Regions from separate parts of the Homo sapiens genome. Here all the other regions are linked to region 1. The links are contacts of gene promoters, found by promoter capture Hi-C in blood cells and fetal thymus (Javierre and others, 2016). All regions are on one chromosome and are shown on one strand. The core of a region is centred on a gene start or on the middle of the fragment in contact, and the rest is flanking DNA. Distances in the headings are between cores, read along the strand shown.

Region 1 (4,755 bases), core at 634-3,133:
GTTTACGATGGCTTTGCGATGGCCATCACCCCATCATAAGTCAAGGAGAATCTATACTGTAATAGAAGCTATGTGAATGTGGTCTTTCTCTCAGAATATCTTACTGTACTGTGAAAGCAAAACCAGGGACAAAGTAGGGACTATGGTACATTTAGGATAGAAAGTTGTACTGAATATTTCACAAGTGAAAAATATACTCATTTTTCTTTGTGTTGACTTTCCAATGTGGATTTGGTACAAAAAAATAAAAACCCTCCTTACCAATTGCTGGCTGGGTGCAGTGGCTCACGCCTGTAATCCCAGCACTTTGGGAGGCCGAGGTGGGCAGATCACTTGAGGTCCGGAGTTCAAGACCAGCCTGGCCAGCATGGCGACACCTCGTCTCTACGTCTCTACTAAAAATACCAAAATTAGCCGGGCGCGTAGCCGGGCGTGGTGGCGGGCGCTTATAATCCCAGCTAGGAGGGAGGCTGAGGCAGGAGAATGGCTTAAACCCGGGAGGCGGAGGTTGCAGTGAGCTGAGATTGCACCACTGTCCTCCAGCCTGGGCGACAGAGCAAGACTGTCTCAAAACAAACACACAAACCCCTCATCAGTTGCAATATTTAAGTTGCATTTAATCCTAGCAATTGCAGTCCTGAGATTTGGATAAGAACCAGAGTATGGTCTTCCAGGGCAGCCAAACCAAGCCATTCCATGAACAACAGAGATCACCCTGCTGCAGATGGTCCACAGATCTTTTCTTGTGCATTTCTTCTGGGAACAAATGCAACTGAGGAAGCAGACATATTCTAGGGGGAGAGATCCACAAAAATCCTTAGAGTCATCTTGCCCCACCTCCTTGTTATGGCTTTAGGTACAGCCCTTATGGCTAGGAGATGTAACCTTCCTCAGCCTTTGCGTCTACGTCTACAAAATAACAACTACCTTGCAGGGTGTTATTTAACACTGCGAAAGTGCATTAATAGGCACAGAAAAACAAAAAACAAAAAAGCAAATTGTGCCCTCACTGCGAATTCTCTGTATTCTAGTTAAAAACATCTATAGCTTGGGTGCATGGTGTCCGTGCTGGGCAAGAAAAGGGCAAAATAGATCATGACAAGCCTTAACATTTTCTCACTTCAGTTTCCTCACTGCAATTGATTTTTTTTTTTCTTTCAAGTCGGAGTCTTGTTCTGTCGTCCAGGCTGGAGTGCACTGGTGTGATCTCGTCTCACCGCAACCTCCGCCTCCCAGGTTCAAGCGATTCTCCTGCCTCAGCCTACCGAGTAGCTGGGATTACAGGCGTACGCCACCACGCCCAGCTAATTTTTGTATTTTTAGTAGAGACGGGGTTTCACCGTGTTGGCCAGGCTGGTCTCGAACTCCTGACCTCGTGATCCACCCGCCTCGGTCTCCCAAAGCGTTGGGATTACAGGCGTGAACCATCGCGCGGCCCCTCACTGCAACTGAGGGTAGCGCAGTGGCCGCAAGTTCCAGATCTGGAGTTACTAAATAGCTGGGTTCCAATCCCGGCTCTGCCACTTATTAGCTGTACGATCTTCATTCGTTTCTCAACCTCTCTGGGTCTGAGATTCCCTTAAAGCCGGGGTAATAGAAATGAATAGGATTTCCTAACTAGGACTAGACTTTCTCAATTTCTTGACTCAGAGGGGCAAGGATAGCCTGAAATGGAAAGTGAAGGCCTTCAGGTTCTTCCTAACAGCCGCTCCGAGGAGGGGAAAGCTACAGGAAGAGGGAGGAGACCCAAGAAAGGTCGGACCAATGAGGCAGCGGGCGGGACAGGAGTTCCCGCCTTTGGGCGTCGTGCGCGCGCACCTCGCTCACACGCACACTCGCACGCACGCACGCTGCGGAAGCGCGCGCGCGCGCAGGCCCAGCCCTCGTCGCCGCCGCCATTTTAGCTGTTGGTTCCGGCCGCACCGTGTGGGCTGTAGTAGCGGGAGGGGTGGGGGTCCTCCAGAGTTAAGTGGCTGTCCTCGACTGTGCCCATACAGCAGCCAGCTTTCTTCCTTAATAACTGCCCGTTCGAAGAGTGCGAGGATGTCCAAGCGGCACCGGTTGGACCTAGGGGAGGATTACCCCTCTGGCAAGAAGCGTGCGGGGACCGATGGGTAAGCCAGGCCGGGGGCGCGAGGCGGCAGCTCGGGCTTTGTTGGGGTCCTGGCAGGGAGCGGGCCGGGGCTGGCCTGGCCGAGCGGGTCCTGGAGCCCGAGCCTTTGTTTCTCTCTGGGCTGGGTTCACTAGCGGCGGGTAGGAGAAGCGCGGCGCCCGTTCGGCCCGGCAAGGGCGCGGGGGGTTGCGTGCGACGGGGCCGCTGCCCAGCCCAGTCCGGAGGGTGGAGAGGCCTGCAGTAGCCATGAGGGCGCCTCCTCCCCCAGGCCGAACCGAGCGGGAGTCATTTGCGAGGGCGTCGGGCGGGAGTGAACCGCGGACCTCGTGGCCTCGGTTCCCGAGGAAGGCCTGGAGCCGGAGGAGAGGGTGGGGGAGGGCGCGGTGGGAGTATTCGCTTCCAAGGGCAGCAGGCACTTCCCAGCCAGAGGGGCCGTGGGGAGGGCCTGGGTGGGGGCGCGGCCAGGCACTCCAGACGGGAAAGGCGGAGGGCGGAAAGTGAGAGCAGCGCGTGGATCATAATGTAGGCTGGGATGGGGGTGGCGGGAGTTGAGAGAAGCCAGCAAATAGGGAGTTCTCGGGGGAGGTGGGAGTAGAGGACCTGCCGGGAGAAAGGAAAACGTGGAGTAATATACCTGATGGGCTGGAAGGCTGGTGTTTTGGGGCGACTGAGTTTATAGTTTGGCGGGAGAGAGCGTGCCTTGGTCCATTCAAACACTTCAAAGTAGATACTAGCAAACTTCCGCTCTCTGCCTACGCTCCCGCCATCTCCTGTATTTCCTGCTTTGGTTAAAACTGGTTACTGAACATCGTCCCATGGGGAGGGATTAGAAGGCATTGTTTTTTTTTTTCATCATTTATTTTCTATGCATGTCCCACTTTTCTTCATAAGTAGCTTTTGAAATACAGGGATCATGTTCAAAACGTGTTTTTAGTATTTATGGCGAAACACCGCCCATGTGGAGGTTGAGAGTTGAAATACTTACACAAACTCTTGGTGTTCCAGATTCCTTTCCTTAAAGGTACAGAGGAATTTAGCAGTTAATTTAAGCAATTTCGTGAAAATCATTTCTTGTCCCTTGTGTGTTTTCATTGATGAAGTACAAAGACCTGTTTGGATAATTCAGGCAAAACCCACAAAAGCCCGAGTAGCCAAATACTTTGCATAATTGTATCATTTTATTGTGTACTTGTGATACAGAATCACTGTGTCAAGTCACCTGTATAGCTGTTTTGAATTTTTCAGCTAAAGTTCTTCATTGAAATTGATTTCCAGGGATATGTTTAGTGTCATTGTAGAGTATAAGCCAGGATAGGGTGTACTTTTTGAGGCTTTGCCATATGTTGAATTATTCAATAGAAAGCAAAAGCATGTCACATTTTAATTTTGTGAGTTATTTAGTTTACGATATTAGGCATTGTAAAAAAGACAATGACATTGTAAGACAGACTCTCTTTAGGCTATCACCCTCCCCCACCATTACGCCCCACAAAACGTTAATACCTCTGAGCTGTATGTCACAGACTCAGAGCTGGAAGCAACTTAAAAAAGACTATACGCGGCTCCAATCAAGGAATGAGAAGTGGAGAACAGAGTTAAGGTGGCTTGTGCAAGTTTACAGCAGGATCTGGAACCCTGCCTTTGTCATTTTCACTCAGCAGCACACAGTTCAGTACTGTAGTTAAGAGTCATTACAGCCTATTTTAATGACATTTATAATGCGTTGGTAAAGTAGGGAACACTTAGTTCTTGATTTCTCTAAGGCAAAAATAAATTGCTGTCATCTGGAACTGATGTCTCTCACAGGAGGTCAGATTGGAACAAAATATTCTGGGAGGGAATGAATGAATTCATTTGTATTTGTGCATATGTGCACCATTTAAAATGTTCCCCTTGGGATTAGTGGTCCCACCATATGTATGTGCGATTGTTTACTTTCTCTTGCAAAAACAGATATCCTTAGTAAAAAGGTTGACTTTTGGAGTCTAATGGTAGCTTTATGATTCCCTTGTATATTATTTAGAATTTGCCTATGGATAAAGGAGAGTTCATCTTTGGAATAATGCCCAAGTTATAAGAAATAGTAGAGGGAAGTTTTTATACTCATTTCTATGTCATTTGAGTGCCATTTATCCTTGAACTGGTTTTATTTAACAGTGGACTTAAGGTGTTTATCGGCCTCAGAATTTTTTCATACTCGATAATTTTAAGTCACTTGTTGACTGCCATGCAATCCTGCAGATTTTTTTTTTCCCTGATAAGCAAGTGGTTTTATTGGAGAGCATAAGCTTGTCAGTCTTACAAACTCCACTGCCAGATAGGGTTTCTGCAGTACTGAGAAGGGAAGGTAATTCAGTGGGAGATTTCACTTATATTAATGCTCCCAAACTATATAAGGCTTTATTTACTCCTGGCATATTTTAACTTTGAAATCAGGTGAAGTTATTATAGGTTTCTGTTGCATATTCTGGCCTCATTTCTTCTTTTTGTCAACCCACAGAATCTTCACTATACAATTACCGAAAGTAATAATTTTCCATACTTACTGTTGAAGTATGGAAAAAAGTTTTCGATGTTAGGGGCGTTTTTCATTTTGATGTTGGTTTTTGATATTACCACCTGATAAGAGTTTTTTCTGTTAA
Region 2 (4,755 bases), core at 800-3,299, 390 kb before region 1:
GGATGGGCATGGACCCAAGCCCCATCAATGAGCTCCTTCCCCAGGACGTATGCTTCCTCTCTCCTCCCCTTCCCTCTCCTCTCTTCCCCTCCCCTCTCCTCTCCTTTCATCTTTTCTCTCCTTCCCTTCCCTATCCTACTTTTCCTTCCTTTCCCTCTCCTGTCCCCTCTCCTCCCCGCTTTCTTCTCTTCCCCTCCCCTCCCTCTCCTGTCCCCCTCCTCCCCCTTCCTTCTCCTTCCCTCCCCTCTTACATTCTCTCCCCTCCCCTCAAGATCCCCTCCTCTTCTCTGCCTTCTCCTCCCCTCCCCTCCCTCTCCTTCCCCCTTCTCCTTTTGTCTTGCCTCCCTTCTTTTCCCTTTCTCTCCTATCTTCTGTTTTGTCTTCCTCCCTTCCCTTCCTGTTTTAGTCTGTTTTGTGCTGCTATAACAGAATAGTTATCATAGAATACCTGAGATTGGGTAATTAATAAAGAACAGAAATTTATTTCTCATAGCTATGGAGGCTGGAAAGTCCAAGATCAAGGTGCTGGCATCTCATGAGGGGCGTCTTGCTGCAACCTCACATGGCATAAGGCAAGAGAGCAAGCTAGTGCAATGCTGCGCAAAGCCTATTTTATAAGACCTTTAATCCCATTAACAAAGAAGGAAACCTCACAGCCTCATCACCTCTTACAGGCACCACCTCTTCCTACTATCACATTGGCATCATCTGAATTTTGGAGGGGACACATTCAAACTATAGCATTTCCCTTCCCTCCCCTTCCTTCCCCCAACCCCCTTTCAACCCCTCTTTCACTCCCTCTCCTGGTTCTATTCTCTTCTGCTCACCTTTTTCCCAGTCTCTCCAGAAAAAGCACCAGGATGGGGTGGCTGAAATGGAGATCTTCAGAATCAGGGAGACCCTGAGTCCCACAGAATTGGATCATCCGAGGCCATGCAGTTGAGTGGGAAGATGTGATTCAGCAGACATTGATTGAGCACTTACTGAATGCAGACTGGTGTGGGGGGTGTAGAGATGAATAGGACATGTCTTCCCTTTAAGAAGCTCAAAGACTAGTGAGAAGGAAAAAAGAAAGCCATATTGGTTGAGAAATTCTTATGTGCTAGGGAATTACATTATGAAATCCTCATGACAGAGTCACCCAGAAAGATGCAGAAAGGTCCGGTGATTTCTGGGTGCTGCAGCAGAGCTGGGAGTTGACATCAGGGCTTCTTGGCTGCAAGGTGGTTACTCTGTCCTCTAGAGCCACACATTTGCCACTTGAAAAACGACATCTCCTGGAATTGCTGAAAAAGCAAAGAAGTATGGGTTTCCTCTGCAGAATTCAGGGATTTCACCCCTCTAGGGTTCTGACTCAGGGCGGGGGCAAATTCACGTGGGAGTGCGGGATGCGGAACTGATGCCTCCCGAGTCTCTCCTAAGCTTGTGAGTCTCAAACCACAGATGGCTGATTGGTGGGGAAAGCAGCCGGCACCTGCGGGTCACCTTCCGCCCTGGGGAGCAAACTGTCAAAAGGAGCTGTGCCCGAGGCTGACCTAGTTAGACAGTGGGCCGCACACAGGCGCTCTCCTTTGCAGGATTTGTTCCAGGCGTTTGTTTATTTGCGCACCACTTTATTTGCCACTAAAAATACTCTTCCGAAGCAGAGGCGCAACTGACCGTGACTCTTGCGAAACAGCCGAGTGCACAAGCACTGAAGGGCTCCCTCTCGGGCTTCCCGGGCTCGGGGACTGCAAGGGGAACAGAGCAAGGCCTACTTGCCTTAAGGCAGGCAGCTCTGTTCACTTCCATAACCCCAAACCCAATCCCTCCATGAGGCACTTGCTGGTTAAGAAGCAGCTCTCAGCCTGCCTGGTGGACTGTGGATAACGTTGCACAGAACTCCTCAGTTGTAACCAACAAAACTCAGTTCAGACCGGGTTAATCATACACTCACACACACGTATTGTCTCAATGAGCAAAAATTCCAGAGACTGCTGTAGGCACAGCTGGATCCAGTACCGATGGATGGCTGGAATCTGGTCTAACTCTGGCCTTTTTCAGTTCTTTTTATCCTCTGGGTTGGCCTCACTCTCAAGCATGTTTTCTCCTCACAATGTCAAGATAGCTGCCAGTAGCCTCAGGCATGCTTAATCACAGCTCCAAGTGCAAACAAAAGGGGACTTCTTTTTCTCCAGACTTTTTTTAAATGCACTTTATTGAGGTACAGTTGATATACAGTAAACTCCATATACTTAAAGTGTACAATTGGATAAGTTTTGACATATGTGTACACCCATGGGACCACCACCATGTCGACACAAAGAGTCAGACTCCATAAAATTTTTAAACAGGTTTATTCTGAGCCAAATATGAGTGACTAAGGCCTGAGGCACAGTCCCAAGAGGTGCTGAGAATATGTGCCCAAGGTGGTTGGGTTACAGCTTGGTTTTTATATGTGTTAGGGAGACATAAGACTTCAGTCAATACATGTGAGGTATATATTGGTTTGGTCTGAAAAGGTGGGACAACTTGAAGGGGAGGGTTACAGGTCATAGGGGGATTCCAAGATCTTCTGATTGGCAATTGATTAAAAGAATTAAGTTATTATCTAAAGACCTGGAATCAATAGAAGAGTGTCTAGGTCAAGATGAGGGGTTGTGGAAACCAAGGTTCTTGTTACATAGATGAAGCTTCATGGGTGCCCACCCTTACAGGCAAAAGATGGTGAATGTTTCCTGCTCAAACCCTTAAAAAGTGCTAGACCCTCAGTTAGTCCCTTCAGGATTGGGAGGGTCTGGAAGGGGAAATATCTAGTTAACAGAGATTCGTTACAGATGCAATTCCACCACAAAAACAAAGTTGCAGGCTATTTCAAAGTGTGACAAATAAACATACTTTGGGGTAAAATGTTTTGATTTCCTTCTTTATCTGTCATGTGATGTTATGCCAGGGTCAGATTGGAAAGTCAGTCAGTTAGACAGGTTTAAATAAAATGTCTCTGATGAGATTTTACAGTTTGTAGTGTGTGACTCCCCAGGCCTCTTAGGAATTTGGGCAAGAGAGGAAAAAAGGCTGGGCGTGGTGGCTCGTGTCTGTAATTCTAGCATTTGGGAGGCCGAGGGGAGCGGCTTGCTTTAGCTCAGGGGTTTGAGACTAGACTGGGCAACACGGAAAAACCCCATCTCTACAAAAAATGCAAAAATTATCTGGGCGTGGTAGTGCGTGCCTGTAGTCCCAGCTACTTGGGAGGCTGAGGTGGGAGGATGGCTTGAGCAAGGGAGGTTGAGGCTGCAGTGAGCTGAGATGGCACCACTGCACTCCAGCCTGGGTGACAGAGAGCCTTGTCTCAAAAAAGAAAAGAAAAGAAAAGAAAAGAAAAGAAAAGAAAAAGGTCAGAATTTAGTCCTCAACCACAATCAACACAGCAAACAAGTTCATGATAGCCAGGGTTTTCCTGTGTCCCTTTGTCATCCTTCCCTCTGTCTGTGAAAATAGTCAAACTCTGTGGAATGTTTGAAGAGATTTATTCTGAGTGAAAATGAGTGACCAGTCCTCCATAGATTCTGAGAATGTGCCCAAGGTGGTTGGGCCACAACTTGGTTTTATATATTTTAGGGAGACATAAGGGACCGATTGATATGTGTAAGATGTACCTTGGTTGGTTCTGGAAAGGTGGGACAACTGGAAGTGAGAGCTTCCAAGTCATGAAGATTTAAAGATTTTTTGATCAGCAACTGGTTGACTTATTTTCAATAGAAAGAAATGTCTGGATTATGATAAGGGGTTGTGGAGACCAAGGTTTTATTATGCAGATGAAGCCTCTAGGTAGTATGTTTCAAAGATAATAGATTGTAAATGTTTCTTATCAGACTTAAAGAGTCTGTTCTATCAGTAGTTCTAAAAGAGAGGATGGTATAATGAGGCATATCTGGCCCCCTCTTCCCATCATGGGCTGAACTAGTTTGTTTTTCAGGTTAACTTTAGAATGTCCTTGCCAAGAGGAAGGGAGTTGGTGGGTGAGTGGCAGATAGCTGGGAAAACATTCGAGGAATCATAGACAGCTTCTACATGGCTGTACTCTCTCCCTGGGCAGGAGCGAGCCGAACGTACAGCATTAGCAGGGTAATTATACCTTTTGCAGACAATAGTGGCTCCAAGCCAAGCACAAGCTCATGTGGGTGACCACCTAACGTGCCTCATGTGGCAAGGTTGCATAATGTGCAGGGTTGTGCACCTGCACTCCTAACCTGCTGAATCATGCTGCACTGGAAGCCTGCCTTGGCTTACTCCTGACTAAAGTGCAGTCATCTCCCTCATACTCCACCTCCCAGGCCGAGGGCGTCCCCCGGGCAAGGACACAAGCCCATAGGGCAGAGCCCTGAATTCATAACCCACAACAACAACACAGAGAGCAACAACTCACTACTAGGATCCCAGCTATGCTACTTATGACTATTAGGACCCAGCATAGGCCAGAGCCTAGAGATGCCCACCAACTCTGTAGGGGGTCGTCAGTAAGGGTCTTGACCACCTTAATCTCCCATGAGACCCTTTGCAGGGCTGCTGTTATATTCTGCCAATTGTCAGGGATAAAGGTACAACATTGTGTTCCTAAAAGGGCACAGGTGCCTCCTTGGGCAGCAGTTATTATGTCAAAGGCCATTCAGTTTTGCAACACCACCTTTCTCATCTGATCAACCTCATCCATAACAGGATGAGGGCCACTCGGGTGTAATTCAGAGCCCTGGTGGTGTGCTCTGCAAGAGCAGTAAC
Region 3 (4,755 bases), core at 1,571-4,070, 340 kb before region 1:
CTCTCTGCAAAAAGGGCACTGATTCTTTGTTTAAATTAGGCGGACACATAGCTCAATGCATGACACTGTAGCAACCTGGCAGATGAAGTTTAGCAATAATGCAAGATCATTTCAGTTGACCATAAATGTCACCTGAAAAGGGGAAGTGTGCTGCCCCGCCTGTCACATGAAGTTCACCCCATTCCTCTTGTTCTTTGCCTTCCTGACCTTCTGGACTCATTTCAGCTTTTGGACACATTAGGGAGTGACAGGAAGACACCTCTGCCCTGTGAAGACCATGACAGCACCTGTGTCAGTTTCCTAGGGTTGCTGTAACAAATTACCATGAACTCAGTGGCTGAAAACAACAGAAATTTATCTTTCACAGTTCTGGAAGAGCATTCCAAGCAGGGGATCCCTGAGGTGGGAAAGGGCCAGGTGAGTGTGATTGGAGCAAAGAAAGCAAGAACAAGAGTAGTAGGAGCTGAGAGGGGATTCTTGGATCACCCAGTCATGGTTAGATTCATATATTGACAATGAGAAGGAGTCAGTGATTTCATGAAGAAAATGAAAAATACTGGTGGTCCATGTTAAGCCTTCGACTTTTATGCATACCATCCATTCTGTTGGAATTCCTAGGCATCCTTCAGGAAAAGCTTGTGCCCACTTTCCCTCACAATGCCCTACCCTCTCCTCCCCTTCGCCATCTTCTCCTTCCTGGGCACCTGCATCATCAACACATAGTATTAATCTTAACCTCTTTTATGCTATCACAGTCCAATGTACGTGTCTCTAGAAAAATACCGAGCATGTTGCTTTGCACACAGTAATCCCTGAATAGTGTTTTCCTTCTTTATCTCTTAAAATCCTTACCACAATTTCAAGAATTTTCACTGCAAATCAAATTTGAACTGAGTTTTTAGGGAAGTCCAAGTTTATATGCAAAGACATAAAGATGTAATAGAATCCTTTCAAAGAACTCTCTTGCTAATGCTCAATCACAGCGAACAATGTATTGCCTGACATTTTCAGATTCCCAGACCAGACATAGAATGTGATAGAGGGAGGAAAAGGGGTGAGCCATTTTATAGAGGTTTTTTTGGTTCTATCCTTCTTCTAGACTCTATTCATGGGGCAAAAGGAAGAAATTCACTTAGATTTCATGGATGTGCACAGGTATAGGTACGCTGAGTTTTTTTTCAAGCCAAGCATATATATATCCCCTGTAAAGATCTAAGGAACTCTTAAAGGACTCCAGGGTGATACAGGAAAGAATGTATGTGTGTGTGTGTGCATGAGTGTAGAGAGAACCAGAGTTGGTGTATGTTGGAGATGGAGGAGGAGGTGGTAGATCAAGTTAATATAAGGAAGTTTAATAGGCATTTGACTGCTTAGCCAAATATACGAGTAGTTCCTAGAAAACTACATCATTATACGGGAAGGGGGTTGTTTGTAAGTGGAATACTTCAGGCTAGGAGAAGGTTTCAGCACCTGCTTTAATCAACGTTACAACTATTTTTATGAAGATTTACATTTACAGAAGTTTGAGTCGTGTTCTTGAGTTCTTTGCTTATAGTTTGGAATTTTTCCATGTTTTTGGATGCAAATAAACGCAGCTGTTTGCTCTGCAAGAGCTATGGAAAACATATATTTATGCTGCATTTGTAATACAGAGAATGTTCAATTGAGACTGAATTTGGCATCTTGCCTTACGTTTCAACTTTTCTTTTTAATAACGTAAGATCTTTCATTCATGCAAATGATGCTATTGACTCATCAGCATGGTATAGTGAAAGAACAGGGGTCTGGCCATAAACACAACTGAGTTTCAGTTCTGCTTCGTCAGTAATGACCTTCCTGGATGTGGGAAATTATATTTTCGAAAGATGGCTGCAAGAACCTCACATCTCATGTACTCCTTTACAATATGACCTTGATATTCTCTCATCAAGAGAAGTCTGTGTTCTCTTCCCTCAAATCCAGACAAGCTTGGGACTTCCTTGTAACCTATGGGATGTAGCAGAAGTGACCATGCCTGACTTCGGAGGCTGGGGGTCTTAAGGGCAATGCCACTTCTGCTTAGTCCACTGCAACATTCACACTAGGAGCCGTGCTGCCTGTAAGGAGTGTGACTGTCCTGAGGCTGCCATGCTGCGAGGAAGCTAAGTGGCATGGAGTGGCCCCGTGTAGGTGCTCCAGTTAACAGTCCTCGTCTTCAAGTTCTCCCAGCCCAGGTGCCAGACATGCGATTGAAGAAACCTTCAGACGATCCACAGTCCCAAGCAGGGAATCACTCCCAACCTTCAAGCGTTTCCAGCTGAGACCCTAAACAGGGCAGAGACAAGCTTTCCCTGTTACGCCATTTCTGAATTCCTGACCGACATAATCTGTGAGAATAATAAAATGGTTATTCTGTGTTACCAAGTTTGGAAGCAATAGGAACAGAATCAGCAGCAATAGAAACAGAAACATTGAAACAGAAATTTGGAAGCTGGAAGTGGGAGGCATTTGTAACAGAAAACAGAAACATGTAGTATTAGCACTGGGACACTCCGCAGTGGGTTCTGGAAGCCCCTGAGGGAAGGTAGGACAAGCTGGAAGGGCCTCAAGGGGAATGTTGATGAGACTTTAAAGGAAACTGAGGAATATGTTATCTGGAAACCCAGGAAAGGGAGGTCCTTGTTATGCAGTGGAAGAAAGTTTAGCAAAACTGTTTCCTGTGATAATGCATAAAATGGAAAGCATATTTATTAAACTTGATTTCAGGCAAAGCATTGAGGGTGCTGACTAACTTCTTTCTGTTCCCTATAACAAAATGGGAGGAATGAGACAAACTCAAGAATGAATTCCTTTTTTTCTTTTTTTTCGAGATGGAGTTTCATTCCTGTTGCCCAGGCTGGAGTGCAAAGGCACCATCTTGGGTCACTGTAATCTCCACCTCCCGGGTTCAAGCGATTCTCCTGCCACAGCCTCCCGAGTAGCTGGGATTACAGGCGCACACCATAATGCCTGGCTAATTTTTTGTATTTTTTTTAGTAGAGACAGGGTTTCACCATGGCCAGGCTGGTCTTGAACTCCTGACCTTAGGTGATCTGCCCGTCTCAGCCTCCCAGAGTGCTGGGATTACAGGTGTGAGCCACCATGCCCGGCCAAGAATGAATTCTTAAGCCTTCAAGCCTAATTGGAAGGATAGATAAGGTCTCAGAATAGTCATCTTAGCCAGGAAAGTGTCCCAAATTAATAAATAGGCTCTGGGAAAATATGAATTCAGAATGGGACTGTAAGATCCCTTGTTTAAGCCTCAGAAATATCTTACATGCTACTTCAGAGAAGCTTCCAGGAACATAAAAGTCCTTCTTTAAGAATCTATAGTGTTTGTCTTGTAGACCTTCTTTGTTAAACAATAAGACTTCAAAGAATCTTGAGGGCACTGTCCCACAACAGTGACACAAAGACCCAAGATAGAGAAGGACCTGACTCAAAGAGATTTGTAAGTGTGATTTTTGTCTATAAAGTTGATTATGCATTGATACAAAGTAAAACAAAATAAAACGAAACAAAACACCGCAAAGTTTTTTTAAAAGGAAGCATGTTAGCTTTGATGGACAGGAACAGAGACAGTACGAGATGAAAAGAATTCTTTTGACCCTACCCCACCCCCAGTCTTTTAAAGGCAAGAACCAGGCTAAAAAGGCTATTCAATTGCATACTGAAGTATTTCTTATGGAAAATGAAGGATAACTCAGAGGGCTGAACCAAGAGCCATGAAGAAAAACTCCCAAAGAGTATGACTGAGTCCTAAGCTGTCCCCACATTTCAGAATTGCTATGGACAAGTGACCACCAATGCCTTTCATTTTCCCTGCTTTTGAACAGGAATGTCTACAGCAGTTATCCAATGCCTGTTCTACTGTGGCATGCTGCTGGCATAAGGGACAGAGAACTAATCTCTTTAGTTCATAGATCTACAGAACAAGAGGAAGATTGACCCAAAAAACTGTACCTAAGGAGCCTCAACTACACTTGGACAAGATGTAGTTGAGATTCTGGACTTATAACTGATGTAGTAACAGGACAAAACTTTGGGTGTCTTCGAAGAAAGGTTATTCATTTTGTATATGAGATGGGTATTGTAGCCAGTGGATGTGGCCACTGTGGTAGATTGCATTTTCCAAAGGTGACTGCAACAATTTCTTCCATCCCACAAGCTTCTTTAAAATGAAACCTTGATACTCATCCATACTCAAGAGGTGGCATCTGGACAAGTTTTTGACTCACTCATAACCAAAAAATAATGTGGTGGAAATGATGTTGAATGACTTCCAAGAATAGATGATGAAAGGCAGTATAGTTTCCACTTTGTTAATTAGAATAGTCATTCTTGCAACTCCATGGCGCCATGAGAAAAATCCACTACCCTGAAGCAGCTGTGCTATGAGGAAGAAACACCACATGGAGAGACCACATGTAAGGCATTTTAGCTGACAGTCCTAGTCTTTGGGTCCTCCCAAAGTAGGTGTCAGGCATGCAAAAGAATGAGCCTTCAGATAAGTCCAGCCTCCAGCCACTGAGTCACACTCTGAATCTTCTCAGCTGAGGCCTCATGCTTCATGGAGCAGAGCCAGCTGACCCTACTGTGGCCTTTCTGCATTCTTGAGCATGGAATCCATGAACATAACGTGACGTTTCACACCACTAAACTTGGGATGGTTTGTTATGCAGCAATAGTATCTAAAGTCATGGACCTCATTTGGTTTTCACATGTGTAAGATGAAGA

Evidence for each region. Contacts are between HindIII fragments. The CHiCAGO score rates a contact against its expected background, and 5 or more counts as called.
Region 2: a contact is called between a fragment that was not itself captured here and the fragment with the promoter of DHX15 in region 1, in 4 of 17 cell types (monocytes, M2 macrophages, M0 macrophages and 1 more). The highest score is 10.2, in monocytes.
Region 3: a fragment that was not itself captured here is called in contact with the fragment with the promoter of DHX15 in region 1 in 3 of 17 cell types (monocytes, M1 macrophages and M2 macrophages); the score reaches 5.7 in monocytes.

Annotation. Positions count from the first base shown.
Region 1 is chr4:24,581,682-24,586,436 of GRCh38, reverse strand. DHX15 (DEAH-box helicase 15) reads left to right here and starts at 1,883. Exons shown (of 14, transcript NM_001358.3): 1 at 1,883-2,114. The coding sequence starts at 2,044. RefSeq lists an enhancer at 1,445-1,984 and silencers at 2,165-2,284, 2,295-2,374, 2,575-2,624. The HindIII fragment of the contact is 7,218 bases long and covers 1-4,403 here.
Region 2 is chr4:24,970,904-24,975,658 of GRCh38, reverse strand. It overlaps a transcript of CCDC149 not described here and a transcript of LOC102723675 not described here. Among named protein-coding and RNA genes, the nearest start is that of LGI2, 58 kb to the left of the region's middle. The HindIII fragment of the contact is 1,250 bases long and covers 1,425-2,674 here.
Region 3 is chr4:24,924,288-24,929,042 of GRCh38, reverse strand. It overlaps a transcript of CCDC149 not described here. Among named protein-coding and RNA genes, the nearest start is that of CCDC149, 14 kb to the right of the region's middle. The HindIII fragment of the contact is 988 bases long and covers 2,327-3,314 here.